2 separate regions of the Homo sapiens genome follow, and region 2 is linked to region 1. Evidence: promoter capture Hi-C in human tissues and cell types (Jung and others, 2019). All regions are on one chromosome and are shown on one strand. The core of a region is centred on a gene start or on the middle of the fragment in contact, and the rest is flanking DNA. Distances in the headings are between cores, read along the strand shown. Region 1 holds the start of RPRML (reprimo like). Region 2 overlaps GOSR2 (golgi SNAP receptor complex member 2).

Region 1 (7,650 bases), core at 1,915-4,414:
GCTAATTTTTTGTATTTTTAGTAGAGACCGGGTTTCACTGTGTTAGCCAGGATGGTCTCGATCTCCTGATCTCGTGATCTGCCCGCCTCGGCCTCCCAAAGTGCTGGGATTACAGGCGTGAGCCACCACGCCTGGCGATAAAAGTTTTTAAAAAAGAAATTTGGCTGGGCGCAGTGGCTGACACATGTAATCCCAGCACTTTGGGAGGCCGAGGCGGGTGGATCACCTGAGGTCAGGAGTTCGACACCAGCCTGGCCAACATGGTGAAACCCGGTCTCTACTAAAAATAATAAATAAATAAATAAATAATTAGCCAGGCATGGTGGCGCGCGCCCATAATCCCAGCTATTCCGGAGGCTGAGGCAGGAGAATCGCTTGAACCTGGGAGGCAGGGGTTTCAGCGAGCCAAGATTGCGCCACTGCACTCCAGCCTGGGCGACAGAGTGAGATTCCATCTCAAACAAACAAACAAAAAACCAAAAAAACAAATTTAACTCTTGACTCGTTCTCTTCTCGCCCCAGTCACATTTAGTAGCAGACCTATTTTATTAGAGGAGAGTTCTCGCAGTGTTCGCCCTAACTTGGCCCGGTGGAAAAGCGTGTAAGCCTGTGTTCTTTCTGAAACCATTTTCTGGTCATTTGGGATTTTACGCAAATGCCTGTAGCTGTCTGAGCTGCATTCCCCAAACCACTGAGGGCAGCCCAGACTCCAGATAACTGCACCACCTACATGACGAAGCCACTTATCCAGGTTGCCTGAGTCACTGAAGGCTGCTGTCCCCAGATCAGGCTGGACTTCCTGCAAGTCACACCAAACCATCAACAGAACATTCTCCACATTCGGGGTTTTTCCCCCAGAGACACTTTACAAGGAGTGTCAGTTCCTCCCCTCACTGGCCTGGCCTGAATTCTCCCAGGTCTGAGATTGGGACGACCAGGGTTGGGGGATGGGGCACATCCTGATCATGATAATTCTGACCACACAGGAGCACTTGGGAGCCAGGACGACTCTGGATCCTTCATAGCCAGGGACCATCTGTGCCTTCGAGAAACTCCCCCACCCCACCTGTGCCAAGCCTCTCCCTAATGAAACTAGTGCCAAATACACGGGATCGCATTCCCTTCGCTTCTCTTAGCTAAAAGCAGCTAAGACTTCAGTCACCTTCCTCGTTATTCTTCACTCCCACCCACAGCAAAAGAGAGAAGAAAGGGAGAAATCCAGTCTCTCCCCGACCAAGTCTTCCAAGAACCGCTTGAGCGGGGTTGGCACTAGGACTAAGTGTAGTGGGGGATACATAGGCCAGAAAGCCCAGCCTTCTCTCCTCCAGTGTCCCCAGGTCCCCCTGTCCCCAACTTCCAGAAAGCAGAGCTGTCCTCTCGCTGTCCGCTAGGGAGTAGCCAGTTCTTGCTGCTCCACACTGCTGCAAGGGAAGTTAGCACCTGCAGGAGGCGTGGGTTTCTGGGCAGCTGGGGCATCCTGTAATGGGAGGCTCCAAGTCCCCTGCAGGCAACTGCGTTTGGAGGCCATTTTCTCCATTGTATAATAAACATCCTGGGACTTCCTCACCACAAAGCCGCCAACCCCCACCCCTATGGGATGCAACAAGGGGGTTTCTTCCGTCTACTCATCTGTCCGCTATAAGGGTAGGGACAAAGCAAGCCCTTAGAAGGGGCTTTGGCCTTATAATTAAACTTTTAACTAGATCTAGTTTTCCCCTCTGCCAAATTGAATTTTCCTTGTTCACATTTTCTTCGTTTTGGACACAGCTGACTGATTTTGTTTCATCTCATATTAGACTCATATATCCAGTGATTTAATTAATCTCACCAGCTGTCTGGCTGTCCCACAGGACCTGCCTTCTCCGCTGTTGGCGTTAGAAAACGATTCCCTTTGCCTTTCCTCGCTCTGGCCTCCGCGTGGAGCCCCAGGATCCTTGACCTGACCTGTGGGCTCCCCAGCCAGGCGTCCACGCAGGGGCTAGATGTCTCCCACGGGGCTCAAAGTGTCCGCCAGGAGGGTACATGCCCTCCGCCCCGCAACACACACACACACCTCACAGGCGCGGGTGGGAAGCTGCCTGAAGCCCTACGGCTGCAGTTTTATTACAAGATTTCTTTCCAAACGCAAGATCAGGCCAACAAGCTCAGCGACTCTGACGCTTCACATCTTCACCCACTCGCACCGTGTTCCGAACCCACCCGCACCAACGTACACACAAAACTCCCACGCGAGCGACCGCAGTCCCAAATTGCATCTCCATACCCACTCCCACCCTGCCCCGAACGTCTTAAAAAACAAACAAACAAAAAAAACTGGTAAGAACCCTCACCCCACATTCTCCCACCCCGCAACGCTGCAGCGCACACAGGACAGAGCCGGGCGTCCAAGTCCCTTCCCGCGCCCCCGCCGACAGTCTCGCCGCGTCCCCGCCCGGGCGCCCCAGGCACGTAGCTGCCCGCCCGGAGGCGGCGGCAGAGCGCAGAGAGCGGGGCGAGGGTCCGGGTCTCCGGGGTCCTTCTTGCAGCAGCGCTGGCGAGGGCGGACCCAGATGGCGCTCAGTACAGCCCCAGGATGGCTGCGCCCACGTCCTTGGAGGGCCGGCGCTCCTGCACCAGAAAGTTGATCATGCTCTCGGACTTGATGAGCAGGTTGCAGCCCAGGAAGAAGACGCCGAAGACCACGGTAAGCGACAGCACGCAGAGCACGGCGATCTGCGCCACCCGCGACACCCACAGGCTGCGCTCGTCGGGCGCCAGCCCCGCGGGGACCCCGTCGCTGGCGGCCAGCGGTGCGCCCCCTGGACAGCAGCCCAGCCACGTGCCCAGCCCGTGGGTGCGGTTTCCCAGGGCGGCCCCGGCGCCGCCGCCCACGCCGTCCACCTCCTCCAAGCCGCTGTGGTTCAGGAAGGTCGCGTTCATCGCCGCGCGGCGCCGGGGGTCTCGGCGCGCAGTCCCGGGTGCACTGGGCTGCTCGCCGGGGTCCGCGCTCTCAGGGACGCTCCGGACCCCTCGGACCGGCTCCTGCGGTACGGGGAGGGGACGAAGGCGGGAGGCTGGCTGCCTGCGCGCTCTCGGGCCGCCTACCCCTGGGCACCGGGCGGGAAGCGACCGCCCGGAGGAGCGAGCAACAGGCGGCGCAGGAGCTGGAGCCGGAGAACCTAGTGTGCTTAGCGGTCGCCCGCTGGGTTCCTCGCGCGCCTGGCCGCCCCTCCCCTAGCAACGGCCCGGCCCCGCCCCGCCGGTCCCCGCGGCATCTCCGAGGGGCGGGAATCCCGCCGCGGGCGCAGCCTCCCCGGAGTCCCGGTGCTGGAGGGGGTCGGGAGATCCGGCAGCCTCTGTCCGCGGGCCGGCGAAACTCCACCCCCTCCTGGCACCCGCTGTCCGTTCTTGGCTAGAAAACCTCTCCAAGGTGCCCATTCCAGGATTTGATACCCTTAGCAGTGAAGTTATTCCGGAATCTGCCCTGACTCTCTTCGCTTATTATTTAAGCCCTCGTAAGCCTTGCTAGACATCAGATGAGTCGCCGGGACCCCTGGCGCTGCCCACTCCACTGGCCCCGGGTCTCCTGGGCGGTCCTGCCTCACAGCTTTCCCGGGGTGAAAGCTGTCGCGGCGAGGCGGGCTCTCTGCCTCCTTCCCTACACCCTCCTCTCAACTTGGTCCCATTTAACTTTTTTTTTAAATTAAAAAATAAATTACTGTTTTTTTCTTTCTTTTTTACACAAACATAGTCATTGTAGACTAGTTTAGAAAACATGAATTACCGAAATTACTCTAAAACTTTATAATCTGCCTCCTAGAGAGTGTCGATGTTATCACCTGGGTATAAACTCCTCCCAGACTTTTTCTATTTGTGCCTTTCTCTAGATAACAGATATGGGGATGCACCGTTCCTGCTTACTGCCTCCCAACCTTTCCTCACTTAACAGCGTAACTTTCCCTAGCGATGGTCCTCTACAGCTATGGCTCTGAATTGCCTTGGAGGGTTTATTAAAACCCAGATTGCTTCCACCTCCCGCCCCCAACCTCCCCACCCCAACCAACCCCAAGAGTTTCTGAATCAGATGTGGGATGGGGCCCCAGAATGTGCATTTCTAACAGTTCCCACGTGATGCACAAACTACTGAGCTACAACATCATTTTTAGTGAAGGAATGGCATTTTAAGGTATGGACTACTACAGTTTATTTAACCAAGCTTCCTGCTGGATGTCTGAGTTTTTCTTTCCTTCTTCTTCCTTCTCCCTTTCCTTCTCTCCTTCCTTCCTTCTTCTTTCTTTCTCTTCTTCTTTCTCTTCTTTCTTTCTCTTCTTTCTTCTTTCTTTCTTTCTGTCTTCTTTTTTCTTTCATCAGAAACAATATTACCATAAGGAGCCTTGTAACAAAGTATTTGTGCCAAAACTGATTTTTCTTTAGATTGTATTTTGAAAAATGGACCTGTAGAATCAAAAAGTAGGCCGGGCGCGGTGGCTCACGCCTGTAATCCCAGCACTTTGAGAGGCCGAGGCGGGTGGATCACGAGGTCAGGAGATCGAGACCATCCTGGCTAACACCGTGAAACCCTGTCTCTACTAAAAATACAAAAAAAAAAAAAAAAATTAGCCGGGCGTGGTGGCGGGCGCCTGTAGTCCCAGCTACTCAGGAGGCTGAGGCAGGAGAATGGCGTGAACCCGGGAGGTGAAGCTTGCAGTGAGCCGAGATCACGCCACTGCACTCCAGCCTGGGTGACAGAGCGAGACTCCGTCTCAAAAAAAATAAAATAAAATAAAATAAAAAAAGAAAAAAAGAATCAAAAAGTACTTCCTACTAAATTGCTTTCCAGAAATATACCAGTGTACAATCATGCCCTGTGGGGAAAGGGGGCTCCCCACCCCCAACATTGTTATCATTATTTTAAAAGTCTTTGCCTGAGTAGCGAAGGGGGGTGGGGGCAGGGGTGGTTTCTCACCCGTATGTTAATTTGCATGCTTTGATTGTTGCAGGAGAGTAAAGAAAGCACTTTGTTATTGCAATAATGCAGGCAAAAGATGCTGCCTGGAGACTTGAATTCCAGTGGTGACAGTGAAGTGGGAGACAAGGGGATGGAAAGGGCATGGCAAATTGGAGTGAAGGGATTCGGGATGCCCCAACACACAGGCATCACAGAGCCTCTGCTCCCTGTTATGGTTTGAATATGTCTCCCCAAGTTCATCTGTTGAAAACTTGACCCCCAATGTGGAGGTGTTGGGAGGTGGGGTGAGATGCTGCCATTGTTTGGGTCAGGGGCACCACCCTCATGAATAGATTAGTGCCATTGTCTCAGGAGTGGGTTCTTTATAAAAGGATGAGTTCCACCCCTCTTTCTCTTTCTCTCTCTTCTCTTTCTGGCATGTGATGTCTTCTGCCATGTTTTAATGCAGAAAGAAGGCACTCACCAGATAGATGCTGGCCACTCGATCTTGGACTTCCCAGCTCCTAGACTGTGAGAAATTAATTTCTATTTATAAATTGCCCTCTTTATAACAAGCATCCTGTTATAGCAGCATAAAGCAGACTAAGACACCCATACCCATCCTGATACTCATTATTAGAACATTAAGCATGTGTGTATATCCTGGTAAGTTATTAAAATTATTATTTTATTTATTTATTTTTATTTTGAGACAGGATCTCGCTCTGTTGCCCAGGCTGGAGTGCAGTGGTGCAATCACAACTCACTACAGCCCTGATCACCTGGCTCAAGTGATCCCCTTACCTCAACTTTCTGAGTAGCTGAGCCCACAGGCATGTGCCACCATAATTTTTTATTTTATTTTTTGTTCAGACAGGGTCTCACTATGTTGCCCAGGATGGTCTCGAACTCCTGGGCTCAGATGATCTACCACCTCAGTCTCCCAAAGTGTTGGGATTACAGGTGTGAGCCACTGTGCCTGGCAAAATTATCACTTTAAAGATGAAGAAACTGAGGCACACATAGGCACCCCAGATTGGGAAACAACCTGGCTCAAGCTCCTCAGTCCTGGGAAAGCTGGCCTGGCGCAAAGGCATGCAGTTTTCAGGGCAAGAGTCTCCCCTGCCCTGATCACCCCTTGGAGCCAGGATAGAACAGGGAGTCCAGCAGGTGTCTGGCCCGAACATTCTGTCCTCTGCTTTGGCCCAATTGGATTTCTGTAGAGAAATGCTCAGTTATATCCTTTGTCTGAAACCAACCCCTGGCTTTTGCTATACCCTGGACTTGGAGTCCGTACCTTGATTGCATCCAGCTGAAGTCAGACTGCCTGATGTAAAGGAAAGGGGTGGGGTGAGTGAGGATGCAGAATGGGGCCCTGCCCACTCCAGCGAGTTGTGAGGAGGCTGACATGATGGCTGACCTTTCCTTTATTAAGCATCTATTACATGCCCAGTGCATTAAATACATTACCTCCCTGAATTCTCTCACACCAGCCTTTGGGTTCTGCTGGACTGTCCCCTTGACATGAGGAAACAGCGGCACTGACTGTTTAATTGACTTACTTAAGATCACGCAGCTAGTTAAGCATCAGAGCCAGAATTTCAGCCCAGATCTGTCCTGTTCCAAAGCCACGCTCTTCATTATCCCCGTCCCCCTCTCTCCCATCATCCCTGGGGGAGGTGCTGGGGAGGGAAAAAGACATCTTTGACCTGGGAGCAGGAAGGGGGAGAGAGACCTTGGGCTTGTGGATGTAAACAAAGACCACTCAAATGAGAGCAAGCAAAGGCTGTTTATTCAGAGCTTGTTACAGTAAGGGAGGCAGCCACTGTCACTTGCTTTTCATGGAGACTCAAAGGCAGGCCGAGGGGAAGGCTTTATAGCGGAAAAAGGAGAAGGCTTCAGGTACGTCCTGTTGGTGGTGCAGGAAAGCTACAGTTGGGCTCATTAGAAGAGGGGCATCCTAAGTAATTGGTTAGGGGAGCATATTTGGCTTTCTCCGGTTTGTCCTGCATTGAAAGTGGGAACAAAATTAGGGAAGCTGTCAGTTACCATCAAGTCCTGGCCATTTGGGGCTGATTGCTGCAGGGGTTGTTCGTTGGCTTCCTGGGCTGGTGCTGTAGGTTTGGGGGCAGAGTTCTATTTTAATATGTGGTCTGGCCATTGTCTATTTGCATATTTGGTCTCCCAGAACCATCCACGTCAGGAGCAGGACCCCATCTGGCCTGGACCTAGCTAACCACTCCTCCTTCTGTGGTTTCTGTCTGCCCTTTCTTCTTTTTTTTTTTTTTTTTTTTTTTTTGAGACGGAGTCTCGCTATGTCACCCAGGCTGGAGTGCGGTGGCATGATCTCTGCTCACTTCAGCCTCCAGCTCTCAGGTTCAAGTGAGGCCTGCCTCAGCCTCCCGAGTAGCTGGGATTACAGGTGTCCGCCACCATGCCTGGCTAATTTTTGTATTTTTAGTAGACACAGGGTTTCACCATGTTGGCCAGCTGGTCTCGAACTCCTGACCTCAGATGATCCACCTGCCTCGGCCTCCCAAAGTATTGGGATTACAGGCATGAGCCACTGCACCCGGCCCTGTCTGCCCTTTCTTGAGCCTCTGGTCCCAGCAAGTTTGGTTGTAGTTTGATGTGTATTAACTCTTAATTCTCATAATAACCCTGAAAGGTAAGTGTGTTTGTTATTTATTGCTACATCACAAATATCTCAAATTGAGCAAACA
Region 2 (7,650 bases), core at 1,929-4,428, 40 kb before region 1:
TGCTGGGCGCTCCCCTTTCATGAGAGCCACCTGCAGTGACCTGAACTGATACATGTTGATTAGTCTGCCCTTTCTTTAGAAAACTGCTACTCTCCTTTTCATATCTCAGAAAAACAGTAGAGGCCTTTTAGGACCAAACTCCATGTCACACTGATGAAGAGCCAGTGGGGGTTAGAGCGTCCTGTTAAGGCACATGCTAACTTCCCACTCAAGTCTGGCAGCGCTGGGGCATCAGCACACCTCTTGCCACCCACACTGATACCAGAGGGGAAGGCTGTGAGGTGGCTGGGGGTTGAGACTTGAGGTTTCTAACTTTCCTCTGCACACCTGTGGCTACCTGGTGTTTGTCTCTTGATTCCCTCCACCTGCCTCACACCCTGCCTCCGTCGGGATTTTCCACCTACACCATTCAAAAGGAACATAGGAGAGGGCATGAAGGGGCTAGGCTGAAGCACTCTGATGACTGGGGCCAATTTGTGGCTGAAAATGAATACATTTTTTGAAATTTATGGTCATTTTCAAGTGATTTAGAAGGTTGATCCTTAGCCTCATACAGTGATGAAATAATCTGTGTGTTCAGAGCCAAGCAGGACTTTAGCAAGAGTCTGATTGTATTGTCACTATCTCGGGGAAAAAAAAATACAAATACATTTCTCTGATCTCTGATGGCAATGAAGTTTGACTTGTAATTTCTCTGGCTGAGGCTTCTTAATTGCTTTCTGGGCAGAATGTAGATTTTGGATTCCTGTCCATGATGCCTAATGTTGATCTCACTTTCCTTGTTTCTCTCAGTTGCTCATTAATGTGTATTTATTAAAAAAAAAAAAAAAGGATATGGGGCATGAGGTTAGATGCCATGCATATAAGTTGCAGTGGGTGATATGTGCTGAGTGACTTGGGGTCTGCCCCGGCATTCACTTATACTTGTTTCTTACTAAGAAATTGAATGTGCTTTAAGCTGAAAATTAGAAAGCAGTAGGGAAGGACAGGCTGGATGGTTTGGGTTGTTGGTTTAGGAATAAAATGCCCTTTTGTTTTGGTGGTGGGTGATGCCATCTATAGAAGGGTTTTAGGTCATTGTGTTGGTGTCTTTCCGTCTTTCCCACTTGAGACCCTCTTGTAAATATGGACTTGACCCACCCATTGTACTCAGAAGAAACCTCAAAGATTGTACTCTACAAAGTAAATAGGTTGGTATCAATGATTATTGGAACTAGAGAGCCGAGGACAAGTTTTTTGATGTTGCCTTCTTTTTATAGTATAAAATATTCTAATTTTAAGTATTTTTGTTGAGATATAATTTACAGACAGTAAGGTATACAGATCATATTTTTACAATTCAGTGAATTTGGGCAATTGTATCAGCCTTTGTAACTCACACTCCCATCAAGGCCCGGACCATTTCACCTCTGAAAGATCCCTCGTACCCCTTCCCAGTCAGTTGACCCCTCTGCCCCAGGCAGCCACTGTTGTGATTTATTTCACCATAGATGAGGTTTTCTTGTTATTGAACTTCATATAAAGGTATTCATGCTACTCTTTTCTATGTGGCTTCTTCCTCCCAGTATGTTTCCAAGGTTCATTCATATTGTTACCTATTTAATTCCATGTTGGTAGTCAGGTACTTTTTATTGCAAAGCAGTATTCCATTGGTACAGGTTTACCATAGTTTGTTCATTCATCTTGTGATTAGTGACACCATTGTTTTCAGTATGTATTTATTTATGTATTTTTTGAGACAGGGCCTCCTTCTGCCACCCAGGCTGGAGTGCAGTGGTGTGATCTTGGCTTACTGCAGCCTCGAACTCCTGGGCTCAAGTGGTTCTGTCACCTTAGCCTCGCAAGTAGCTAGAACCACAGGTGCACACCACCACACCTGGCTAATTTTTTTTTGTAGAGAAGGGGTCTTCACTACGTGCCCAGGCTGATCTCGAAATCCTGGCCTCAAGTAATCCTCCCACCCACCCCTCCCAGAGTGCTGGGATTACAGGGATGAGTCCCTGCGCCTGGCCTGTTTGCAGTTTTTAGATATTCTCCTGTGTTTTTTTCTAGAAGCTTTAATTGTGGCTTTAGCTTTTATGTTTAATTCTATGAACCATCTCAAATTAATTTTTATGTATAATGTGAATTGAGGTTCAATTTTTACACACATATCTGTAAGAGAGATACATATATATAAAATACATACCTGTGATATTATATAGTCAGTCGTTCCAGCACCATTTGTGGAAAAGACTTTTCTTTCCACTTAGCGTTGCTCTGGTACCTTGATCAAAAATCAGTCGACGACATGAGAGTGGCTCTATTTCTGGCTGATATTGCTTTCTGTGTATTCTGGGCATGACCAAGAGAATGTCTGTTGGCAAAGCTCCATCTCCTGATGCCATTCACCCACTCTTGGTAAAGCGACTTGATGTTTGTTTTTTTTTCTGTTCTCTTCTGCCCCAGGGGACTCAGAAGAAGATCCTTGACATTGCCAACATGCTGGGCTTGTCCAACACAGTGATGCGGCTCATCGAGAAGCGGGCTTTCCAGGACAAGTACTTTATGATAGGTGGGATGCTGCTGACCTGTGTGGTCATGTTCCTCGTGGTGCAGTACCTGACATGAGCCAGCCACGCTCAGTGGCTGAACAGCATTCCCACAGCCTGCAAGTGTGTGTGTGTGTGAAAGAGAGAGGGGGGCCCAGAGGCCGCCTTTTGAAATGTTTGCCTGTCTGAACTGTGAAGACACTTGGGAGTGATTGTGGTCTAATTTCCAACCTGCTCTGTTTTCTGTGACATCTTGGAGGGGGAGCTAGTGCCACCACCATGCGCGGTGCTTAGGAAATGAAAGAAGTCCCGGGTCTGTCTCTCTCACTCTCGCTCTCACTGGGGGAGGGAAAGAATGGCTTTGGTGGCTTTGTTCACATAGCTGATGCGTGCCCTGGGAAGGTGTCCACAGTGAGCCCTGTGTGCAGGACTGTCCACACGGTTCACACCTTGTCACCATCAGGCCTTTCTGGCTCCTGATAGGGTGGAGCAAAAGTGGAAAGGAAAGGAAAGAGGCCTTTTCTCACAGCCATTATATTAAATAGTAGGTCGATTCACATCCTCGTGCTCCTGGCCACCCTCCCCTGTGCCTCAGTGACATGTAGATGACTGACTGCCAATACTTGTCACCATTCCCTGGAAGCAGCTACCTAGGGGAAACAAGATGTAGTGCTATTGCCGATAACAAGTAAGATTTTCCACACTACAGCTGGGTGTTTCTCTTTTCTAAAGTGAGGCCAGTGTTATTTCCCGGGAGTGTTCAGTCTTGACCCTAGTCACTGATTTTTTCTAGTTGTTAATAGAGTGGTTGGCTTTTAAGGTTCAGAGACTGTGGCTTGGCACCTGCGCCCAGGCTTTGTGGGCCTTTGCCCCTTAGAAAGTAGCTGTAGGCAAAGATTTGTGATTTTCCAATTACAGTCTCAGCTCTAGTTTTAGTATCTCTAATTCTTTGGTTCCCTTCTCTTCCCTGAAATATATTAGCACCTGCCAGCCAGGCCCTCATTTTGCCCAGCCAGTGTGGGCAGATCCCACCGTGGAGACATCTGTAGTGTGTATGTCCTTGTAACACTCTGTTTTCAGGGACTACAACCTTTTTCCTTCTGTGACCAGCCCCGGATTCAGGCTGTACTAATACCAGGTATATTGTGGAATTTAGTATAAAGGCCAATCTGTCCTGAAGTCCATCTAATGTGGTGAATCACTGAAAGTCTCAGAAAGACCTGGTTAGTGTATGTTCTCATTTACCACAGGCCTACCAGCCCTGGGCACAGCAGCTTCATGGCAAGACATAAAATGACACTCAAAATCCTTCAGATCTGGAAACCGGCTCAGTATTAACCCTACCTTTGGTTGTCCTGCCCTACCTGCTCTGTTAGTTTCTTGTTGCTTGAACTGTCTTCTGTCTTATTTCCCTTCCTTTCTGTGTTCCTCTTCACCTCTCTTGTTCCCCTCCCCGCTGCTCTGTAGTCATGTTGGTCCTTTCAGGCACCTCTGTGGCATAGCTCCCCTTTGGTAAGTTTTCTTAATTGTCATAGATTAACTGAGTTTCCTGGATGCTAATTTCACACTTTCGGTTGGAGGAGATCTCCATTGTTCCTACCCCTCCGGGCCAAATGGGCCCCAGGTTTCCAAGGAAGGAGCAATCTGTGACTCCTAAAATGGGTTGGGGCCCTGCCAGAGTTAAAGCAGTGACTGGAGGGTGGACTGGGGGGTTGCAGCATCTTTAGACCTAGATCTGTCTAACTCTGGGGAGGCACATTGACATTTCCATTACACACAGCACTGCTGCGGTGCCAGGGACCTAGCGCAGGACTTTTGGTAATCCATAAAATGGATTCTGAGACTGCGACGGCAAGGCTGTCCTGTCCCCCAGGCACCCAAGGATCCTGCCAGACAGCACACTTTGGAGGAAGGTCTGCAGGGAGCAGCTGAGCCATTTGTTCTTGAACTCTGGGAGGCAGAAGTCCCCGCACCCATCATGCGTGGACTGATAGGACATCTTTTCGTGGTGTGCACCAGTGCTTTCCACACTTGACAGTGGTTGGCTTTGATGAACCCTCATGCTGCACCTTCAGAGCCAGTCCTCTAGTTTGGAATAAAAATTGCAGAGGTGGTTTTTGGGTCTTTACCACCTGCGGCTGGTGGACAGCAGCCAGTGTGTCTGGACACCCAGGGGCATTGAGACTGCATGTTGTCACATGACCACTTCTCTTCACACATCTGCTTTCAGTGCCTGGTGAAAAATAGACCTTGGCCTAACAGTGTGACTCTCTCCACCGCCTCAGTGTAGGGAAGGGTCCAGGCCAGGGAAGGAGCACCCTCTAGTGGAGGCGGGGGTGAATTCTTAGGTCGAGCTGATGCAAGAAACTCCGGTAGCCAGCCTCTGTGACCTTGTACATGAGTTTGGTGTGCCTATTGTGATTTAAAACAGGTGGGTTATCAAGAGGAACTTGAGATCTCTTTATTACATGGACATTTACTTCAGGGGGACCACTGTAAGAAAAGCCAAACTCCAAGACCAAGTAAGTTAGAGGAGTCTTGATTTTTTAGACTTCACTGCGGAGTTCTGTACACCCTTTGCCCTGATGAATTTGAATGGGTTTGATTTGCAAATTTGGATTTACACCCATTGTTTTGGAAGCACATCAGCTGAATAAAGTTGAGGTTTATTTTATTTAGAAAATCACATTTTGTAAAAGAATTCGATATTCATTTTTATAACTAATGGCCCCCTTTTTTTATGTTTCTAGGCCAGAGATTCTCAAACACTGCTCCATGGCCAGGGGCTGGGCTGGCTGCTTCAGAAGCAGTGGGGAAGCTTTTTAAAATTACATATTCCTGGGGCCTACCCCAGATCTGAATTAGAACCTTTTTTAAATCTCTAAGGTGATTTTATTTTATTTTTTATTTTTGAGACAGTCTCGCTCTGTCACCCAGGCTGGAGTGCAGTGGCGCAATCTTGGCTCACTGCATCCTCTGCCTCCTGGGTTCAGGTGATCCTCATACCTCAGCCTCCTGAGTAGCTGGAACTACAAGTGTGTGCCACCATGTCTGGCTAATTTTTTTTTTTTTTTTGTATTTTTTAGTAGAGACAGGGTTTTACTATGTTGACCAGATTGGTCTTAAACTCCTGGCCTCAAGTGATCTGCCTGCTTCGGCCTCCCAAAGTTCTAGGGTTACAGGTGTTAGCCACTGTACCTGGCCTCTAAGGTGATTCTGATGTGTGTATTTTGGAACCACTGTCTCCTAGACAGAAAGCTTCTGTCTCAAAGATGATCACATTGGTGTAAAGAGCAAAACTTGTTAAGTCCAAAATAAATTCTTACTGTTTATATCCTACCTTAGTCCAAAAAAGATTTGAGGAGACTTTGAGGAAATAACTGAAACAGATACAAAGAAGTGAGGCACAAGAACAAATCAAGTCAGTGTAGAATGTCGACATCAGGACAAGGAACTCAAACGTTGTAACACCCTAAGAAATGTTTGGGGAACCCTAATTTGACTTTCAGCTCCAGTAGCCAAAGCAAAGAAAGAAACGTCATCTGTTACTGTCTCAACCGGGGGGTGACATTTTCTCAAGGGAAAGCCTAGGCCCTTCATAAACAGCTTGCCTGTAGGCCTCACGGAGGTCAGACAGGGATTTTCCTGGCTCCATCCCTGCCAATCTGAAACCCTCTCACTTATGTTCTCCATCATTTATCCTCATTATGCAGACAAGGGGCTGAGCTGTGGTGACTGTGAAGGCCTCACAGGAGTCCGAGAGGAGCTGGCCCCTCATCCAGCTTGGAACCATGGGCCCACTTAATCTCCCACACTTCTCGTGGGGTGCTCTGCTGGGGTCTGGGGGGATTGAGAGGTGTGCAGGGGACTGAGATGGTGCAGCCTGCTGGCATGGACTATAGAGCTATAAGGTGTTTGCTGCAGACCCTTCAGATAGTATAGGGCAAGTTCCCTGTTGGGAAATAATTTCCTAACTGGAAGGGGAGGGAATCTGAAGTGAAAGCTGTCCTCAGGCCTTGCCCCTAGGGGGCGGCATAGCCCTATCTGTGGCTAGTGGGCCCTGAACACACTGCCTTAGGCCTGCTGTACTTAGAAGCTGAGAAAGGAAAGTGTCATTCCTTCCCCATTTTCTGTGTCCTTTTCATTTCATATGGAAGGCACATGGGAGAGGAGTGTTCAGGGGTGCTGGGCCCCCAAGTGCTGTTGGTAAGTTCCCCACCATGGAGCCTCTGTGAGCCATCCCTCCCCGCCTCATCCCCATGTCCCTCTAGTACAGGGTTCCCAACCTTGGCTCTGCATTGGAATTCCCTCGGGAGCTTTAAAAACCCATGTGTGGGTCTTCCATTCACCCTCTTATTAATTGGCCTGGAGTGCAGCCGGGGCATTGGGAGTTGCCCAAGGCGATTGTAATGCCCAGGGGTAGGGAGCCGATGGCTCTAATACAAGAACATCAACCCAAGGCTAGCCCGTCCCCCATGCACTTCCCCTGGCCGCACCGTGGGAACCACTTGCAGAGACCAACTAGGGGCAGGGATGGAAGCCTGATTCTCCCTCTGGATCAGAAGGAGCCAGATCCCTTGTGGCCATTGGGTGCCCCTCATTAACTGACACCTCTCTGCTGAGTAAAGCACCTTGATGTGACAGGCCAGCTCTTCGCTGCCCCTGCAGTGCAGCCCCCAGCCCTCCCCACCACCCCTGCCTGGTGTTCCGTCCTCCCTGGACTGCTTGGTCTTCTCAGAACATGCCACACACTCAGTACAGCTGCACCTTTGCACAAGATGTTTCCTCTCAGATGTGCCACAAACACCCCCACAATCCCATGAAACCTCCAAGAAGCCTGCCCCTCCCCTCCAAACAACCTCATACTGCACGCTTCCTGCGGAATGGGAGTTGCTCCTCACCGCAGGGGCCTTTGTGCATCCCGGGCACGTAGTAGGCGCAGGCGCCATCGGGTAAGCGGCTGCAGGAGAGCACTTGAGCCCATCCCCCATGCAGGGCCAGCAAAGCTGTTGCAGCCAGGCCAGGAGGAAGCCAGAAGGTTCAAGGCCACTGATGCTACGAGCCATGTGCTCACAGGGCCTCAACAACAGCAATGACTGCAGTAAAAGAGGAGAGGCAT

Evidence for each region. Contacts are between HindIII fragments. The study calls those that stand out against the background at their distance.
Region 2: a fragment that was not itself captured here is called in contact with the fragment with the promoter of RPRML in region 1 in 3 of the 25 tissues and cell types used here (IMR-90 fibroblasts, dorsolateral prefrontal cortex and lymphoblastoid cells).

Annotation. Positions count from the first base shown.
Region 1 is chr17:46,976,089-46,983,738 of GRCh38, forward strand. RPRML (reprimo like) reads right to left here and starts at 3,165. Exons shown (of 1, transcript NM_203400.5): 1 at 2,068-3,165. The coding sequence starts at 2,919. The coding sequence ends at 2,557. LOC101927060 (a long non-coding RNA gene) reads right to left here. Exons shown (of 9, transcript XR_243711.6): 9 at 6,698-7,650. It also overlaps a transcript of LRRC37A2 not described here. RefSeq lists enhancers at 1,270-1,950, 1,951-2,630 and a silencer at 3,108-3,287. The HindIII fragment of the contact is 12,504 bases long and covers 1-4,437 here.
Region 2 is chr17:46,936,151-46,943,800 of GRCh38, forward strand. GOSR2 (golgi SNAP receptor complex member 2) reads left to right here. Exons shown (of 6, transcript NM_004287.5): 6 at 2,449-5,870. The coding sequence ends at 2,610. It also overlaps a transcript of LRRC37A2 not described here. Among named protein-coding and RNA genes, the nearest start is that of GOSR2, 17 kb to the left of the region's middle. RefSeq lists an enhancer at 6,706-7,642. The HindIII fragment of the contact is 4,781 bases long and covers 789-5,569 here.